Regions from separate parts of the Homo sapiens genome. Here region 2 is linked to region 1. Evidence: promoter capture Hi-C in human tissues and cell types (Jung and others, 2019). All regions are on one chromosome and are shown on one strand. Each heading gives the region's core, a stretch centred on a gene start or on the middle of the fragment in contact. The rest is flanking DNA. Distances are from core to core; before and after follow the strand shown.

Region 1 (3,165 bases), core at 358-2,857:
CAGCAACTCCAATTTCTGACTTGATAACATCCCCCAATTCTTTTTTTTTTTTTCTTTGAGCCGGAGTTTTGCTCTTGTCACCCAGGCTGGAGTACAATGTCGTGATCTTAGCTCACTGCAACCTCCACCTCCCGGGTTCAAACGATTCTCCCTGCCTCAGCCTCTTGAGTAGATGGGATTACAGGTGTGCACCACTATGCCCGGCCAATTTCTGTATTTTTAGTAGAGACGGGGTTTCCCCATGTTGGCCAGGCTGGTTTTAAACTCCTGACCTCAGGTGATCCACCCACCTTGGCCTCCCAAAGTGCTGGGATTACACGCCTGAGCCAATGCACCCGGCCATCCCCCAATTCTTTCTCAGGAAGGAACAAGAGGACCCTTCCGTAGCCATGTCCCAAACATCCTCTGCTCCTGAATGACTGACAGCCTTCCTTCTGCTTCTCTTTTTTTTGGAGGAGGAGGCGGCGGTAGGCGTTGGCTTTTCTTCTTAATACCACATTGCAGCAGGCGGCGGTGGCTCACACCTGTAATCCCAACACTCTGGGAGGCCAAGGAGGGAGGACAGCTTGAACCCAGAAGTCCGAGACCAGCCTGGGCAATGTAGTGAGACCTTGTCTCAATAAAAAAGAAAACATAAAAACCACACTGCCTCTTTCTCCCTCACCCAACCACAAATTGACCACCACCTCTGCTCCTCTTCTGGGACCTTATCTTGACTCCTTTTTACCAAGTCCTCTATAGCCACAGTCCAAGTTTATAGTCTCCCTCTTTCCAGCCAAGAAAGTGGCCAACACGACCACTCCTTGCCCCAAGGCTTGCAGACCAGCAACTTAACCTCTTTTTACCCCCATAGACCCATCAAACTCTTTCAACTGCCCTTTCAGGCCCAGTGTTGACCCGCTCCTCCTCTCAACTGCTCCTTCTCTCCTTCTCTGGTGGAACTACGAACGCAAAGGCTGCCACACTCTACATCTGACAAAACACCAAACTTTCTTTAATTGCTCATCGTTTTAAACCCTAAAACGATCACCATCTTTGTCTCGGGTGGGTGGGGTGCGGCAGAAACCAGATACTTTTCACCTTCCCAACTCCATAGCCACCCCCTTTCTAACAGACTACGGTTCTAAACTGACGACTGTCCCCTTATTCACCATTAGGTGCAATCTATTGAACGCCACCTCGAGCCGGGCCCTGCACCGATCCCTCCCGACTCCCGGGTCCCTCTCGAGCCCGCCCCCGCTTCACCCGCGGTAGCTACCATGTCTCCAGGGGTCTTTGGGCTCCACTGCTCCAGACACGATATCCTCGTCGGACGGGAATGTGACGCGCTTGGCTGCAGCCTTGAGGCGCCCATCGGCGGGGGGCGACGCGGGGCTGGGAGACCCGGCCTCAGCTGGGGCCTCTTCAATGTCGCCGTCCGCGCCCGGCACGGGCGGCGCCTCCTGCGGCGCGATCTCCATAGCCGCCGCCGCCTCCTCACGGGGGCCCCGGGGACATGCCCCGGGCCCCGGATTTGTCTCTCCGGGTCCGCCCGCCGTCCCGGGGCATGGGCTCCGCCGCCGCTTCAGGCGCCGCCTCCGTCCGCTCTCCTAGTGGTCGTAGTCGTCGCCGCCGGGAGCCCAAGCGCGCCTCCGCCGAGCCCCGCGCGCGCCTGCCCGTTCGCAGTCACACTTTCGCTCGAGGCTGGCGAGCCCGCCGCTTACTATAAGAAGCAGAAAATCGATTTCAGCGACTTGCACGTAGAGTTGTCCCGCGGGTGACATGAAGAGAGAAACAAAGGGCAGGAAGGGCCACGGAAAAAAGAAACGTGAGCAGCGAATCTGCAGAGCCGGAACTGCAGACTATGAGGGGCGGGGCGAAGTAGACGCCGTCTCCAAGAGCAGCGCGCAAGCGCGAAGCTGAGCCCACGCCTTCCTGCCGGAGTCCAAATAACGAATATTCAGCTCCCGCACATTCGTCAAGAGCCCAGGGAATGGAGTGCATAGAACTGAAAACACCTGGCGGGGCGCGGCGGCACACGCCTATAATCCCAGCACTTTGGAAGGCTGAGGCGGGAAGATCGCTTGAGTCCAGGAGTTCGAGACCAGCCTGGGCAACATAGCAAGGCCCCGTCTTTACAAAAAATTTAAAAATTAGCAGGGTCTGGTTACAGGAGCCTGTAGTTCCAGCTACTTGGGAGGTGGGAAGATCGCTTGAGCCCGGTAGGTTGAGGCTGCACTGAGCTATGATCGCGCCCCTGCACTCCGACCTGGTAGACAGAGCCAGACCCTGTCTCAACGAAAGGAAAGAAATGGGCCGGGCGCGGTGGCTCACGCCTGTAATCCCAGCACTTTGGAAGGCCGACACGGGCGGATCACGAGGTTAGGAGATCGAGACCATCCTGGCTAACACGGTGAAACCCCGTCTCTACTAAAAATACAAAAAATTAGCCGGGCGTGGTGGCGGGCGCCTGTAGTCCCAGCTACTCGGGAGCCTGAGGCACGAGAATGGTGTGAACCCGGGAGGCGGAGCTTTTAGTGAGCCGAGATCGTGCCACTGCACTCCAGCCTGGGCGACAGAGCAAGACTCCGTTCCCCCCCCCCCAAAAAAAACAAAGGAAATAAATGAAAACATTGAGGCTAGACTAACTGATGAAGAGTGGTAACGGCATGAAGAAGTCGAAAAGAAAGGCGGATAGGAGCTGCATTCAATATATGAGTGCAGTTGATGGATGCTGACAGGGATACTCTGGAGACGAAGTCTCGGCCCCTTCGCTAGTCTCTAGTCCTCCATTTGCTCGCTGCAGTTACATCAACAGCTCTCTGTATCGGGGTAGAGTTGCATAAAATACAACTTAAATTACAATGCTAAAATAAATATGAGCCCATGAGCGGTATCATAGGCCTGATTTTAAAAAACAAAACCTAGGAGAAGGTAGAAATTCCAAAGGCGAGAGACGAATCTGCCAACCTAAATCCTGGGTGACAAGGCTGGTGGATCACCGAGGCAAGAAAGAACCAGCGTGAGCTCAAGCCACACCCCTAGGCTCAGACCCAACGCTTGACATTCGCCGCCGCACTTTCGCCACGCTTGCCGAAGCGCACCCGGCTAACTAGAGGAGGCGGGGCTGAAACCATAAAAGGGAACTGGGGCGGAGCGAGCTGCGTCGTCGCCAAGGCAACTCGA
Region 2 (3,165 bases), core at 392-2,891, 220 kb before region 1:
GGCAGGAGAATGGCCTGAACCCAAGAGGCGGAGCTTGCAGTGAGCTGAGATCGTGCCACTGCACTCCAGCCTGGGCGACAGGAGACTCCGTCTCAAAAAAAAAAAAAAAAAAAAAAAAAAAAAAAAGCCAGGCGTGATGGCGTATACCTGTGGTCCCAGCTACTCGAGAGGCTGAGGATCAGCTGGGCCCAGAGGATTGAGGTTACTGTGAATCATGACCGAGGTACTGCACTCCAGCTACCTGTCTCAAAAATAAGAACTCAGACTTGAACCGTACTCCCTAGGTTCAAATCCCAGCTCTACCATTTACTAACTTTACTAGCTTTGTGACCTTGGGCAACTTATTTTATTTTTCTCTACCCCAGTTTCCTAGCTATAGGATAGGGATCACAATAATTTGTAGTTTCTGGTGTTCTTGTGAGGATTAAATGAGTTAATTTATGTAAAGTATTAAAAGCAGTGCCTGGGCCAGGCGCGGTGGCTCACGCCTGTAATCCCAGCACTTTGGGAGGCCAAGGCGGGCGGATCACGAGGTCAGGAGATCGAGACCATCCTGGCTAACATGGTGAAACCCCGTCTCTACTAAAAATACAAAAAATTAGCTGGGCTTGGTGGCAGGCGCCTGTAGTCCTACTTACTCGTGAGGCTGAGGCAGGAGAATGGCGTGAACCCGGGAGGCGGAGCTTGAAGTGAGCCAAGATCGCATCACTGCACTCCAGCCTGGGCGACAGACCAAGACTCTGTCTCAAAAAAAAAAAAAAAAAAAAAAGCAGTGCCTGGTATACACTAAGTGTTCAGTACATCTTGGTTATTCGTCTTATCTTTATTATAAAGTATTATTGCTAGACTTGTTTTGACTCTTTGAATCCCTGATTCAGATAGTCAAAGATTTAGAGAACCTAGGTTTCAATCGATGAAGGGAGCCTGGGTGCTAAGATATACAGATGGGATGATTCTAAGATTTCAAGATTTTAAATATTTTTAGGTTTTAAGATTCCACTCATTTATTTATTTATTTATTTTGAGATGGACTCTCACTCTGAGGCCCAGGCTGGAGTGCAGTGGGTTGATCTCGACTCACTGAAACCTCCATCTCCCGGGTTCAAACGATCCTCTCACCCTCCGCCTCCTTAGTAGCTAGGACGACAGGCATGTGCCACTGTGCCCAGCTAGTTTTCGTATTTTTGGTAGAGACAGCGTTCTGCCATGTTGCTCAGGCTGGTCTCGAACTCTTCACCTTAAGTGATCCGCCCACCTCAGCCTCCCAAAGTGCTGGGATTACAAGCGTGAGCCACCATGCCTGCCCTCAGGTTTTTTTTTTTTTTTTTTTGAGACAGGGTCTTGCTCTGTTGCCCAGGCTGGAGTGCAGTGGTGGGATCATAGCTCGCTGCAGCCTGGACCTTCCAAGGTCAAGTGATCCTCCCGCCTCAGCCTCCCCAGTGGCTTGGACTACAGGCATGTGTCCCACCATGCCTGCTAATTTTTTAAATTTTGTAGATATGTGGGTCTTGCCATGTTGCCCAGGGTAGTCTTGAACTCCTGGGCTCAAGCAATCCTCCGGCCTTGGCCTCCCAAAGTGCTGGGATTACAGGCATGAGCCACCACACCCGGCCATTTCCGGATCTTAATATTTTATGTTCTTTTTTTTTTTTTTTTTTGAGATGGAGTCTCGCTCTGTTGCCCAGGCTGGAGTGCAGTGGCGCGATCTCGACTCACTGCAAGCTCCACCTCCCGGGTTCTCGCCATTCTCTTGCCTCAGCCTCCTGAGTAGCTGGGACTACAGATGCCCGCCACCATGCCCAGATTTTTTTTTGTATTTTTTAGTAGAGACAGGGTTTCGACGTGTTAGCCAGGATGGTGTCGATCTCCTGACCTTGTGATCCGCCCGCCTCGGCCTCCCAAAGTGCTGGGATTACAGGCGTGAGCCACCGCACCCAGCCTTAATATTTTATGTTCTAAGATCCTGCTTCTGAGATGCTAGGATTGGGAGCTAACACACTACGATGGGAAGATTTTCTGGTCCTGAAACCAGATGTAGGATTACCAAGTGTTATCAGTTCTGATCCCAAGCTTCTGTTTGTCAAACATCCTGAGATCCCAAGGATCTATAATAATACTGTTCAAAGACTTAAGTCCCTAAAAGTCCTTGATCCCAGGATTCAGCGTTTTGCAGATCCTGTGACATTAGAGTCTACAGGTTTAAGCTTCTGCGTTTTGAGGAGGCAGATGCCACCCACCTCCCACCCCTCAGGCCCTCTTCCCCCATCGGTGGGCAGATGTTTTGGGGGAGGGCTGGGAATGGGGTTCCCACGGGGCTGACACCTTGGCCTCTTGCTGCGGCACCTTACTCTAGGCACAATGACAACAAGAGCTTCCTGGTGTGGGTGAACGAGGAGGATCACCTCCGGGTCATCTCCATGGAGAAGGGGGGCAACATGAAGGAGGTTTTCCGCCGCTTCTGCGTAGGGCTGCAGAAGGTGGGTGTCTGCCCTTAGCTGCTGACTTCTGACTCCACCTTGAACGCCCCACCTGCTTTCCGAGGCCCCGCCCCTTCCCCTATACTAAGCCCTGCCCCACCCATTTTCCAGGGCCCTGCCCCCCGGACCTGGCTCCACCCCATGCCAAACCCCGCCCCCCAAAACTAGCCCCACCCGCTTTTCAGGGCCCCGCCCCTGGACCCAGCTCCACCCTATGCCCAAGCCCCGCCCGTAAGGATCCGCCTTCAGGCCGGGAGCGGTGGCTCACGCCTGTAATCCCAGCACTTTGGGAGGCTGAGGAGGGTCAGGAGTTCAAGACCAGCCTGGCCAACATGGTGAAACCCCGTCTCTATACTAAAAAATTAATAAATAAATAAATTATCCAGGCGTAGTGGCGCGCGCCTGTAGTCCCAGCTACTCGGGAGGCTGAGGCAGGAGAATCGCTTGAACCTGGGAGGCAGAGGTTGCAGTGAGACGAGATCACGCCATTGCACTCCAGCCTGGGTGACACAGAGAGACTCTGGAAAAAAAAAAAAAAAAAACCCGCCTTCAAAGCGTTCTTAGTCCCCGCCCCTCAAAATCCTGCCTTGGTCCCCATTGTCTAGCCAGCACCCTCGGAATCTCCTACCTCCCTGTTCCCCTCAGAATCCCACCTCCACCACGTTCCCACGCCCTGTCCCTCCGGACC

The links. The method cuts DNA at HindIII sites, captures the fragments that hold promoters and counts their contacts. A contact is called where the count stands out against the background at its distance.
Region 2: a contact is called between a fragment that was not itself captured here and the fragment with the promoter of PPP1R37 in region 1, in 1 of the 25 tissues and cell types used here (adrenal gland).

Annotation. Positions count from the first base shown.
Region 1 is chr19:45,091,621-45,094,785 of GRCh38, reverse strand. It overlaps PPP1R37 (protein phosphatase 1 regulatory subunit 37), which reads right to left and starts at 1,607. Exons shown (of 13, transcript NM_019121.2): 1 at 1,259-1,607. The coding sequence starts at 1,460. RefSeq lists silencers at 1,325-1,534, 3,052-3,165 and enhancers at 1,955-2,004, 3,005-3,165. The HindIII fragment of the contact is 15,616 bases long and covers 1-3,165 here.
Region 2 is chr19:45,307,721-45,310,885 of GRCh38, reverse strand. CKM (creatine kinase, M-type) reads left to right here. Exons shown (of 8, transcript NM_001824.5): 6 at 2,354-2,477. Among named protein-coding and RNA genes, the nearest start is that of CKM, 14 kb to the left of the region's middle. RefSeq lists a silencer at 2,199-2,356. The HindIII fragment of the contact is 3,883 bases long and covers 1-3,165 here.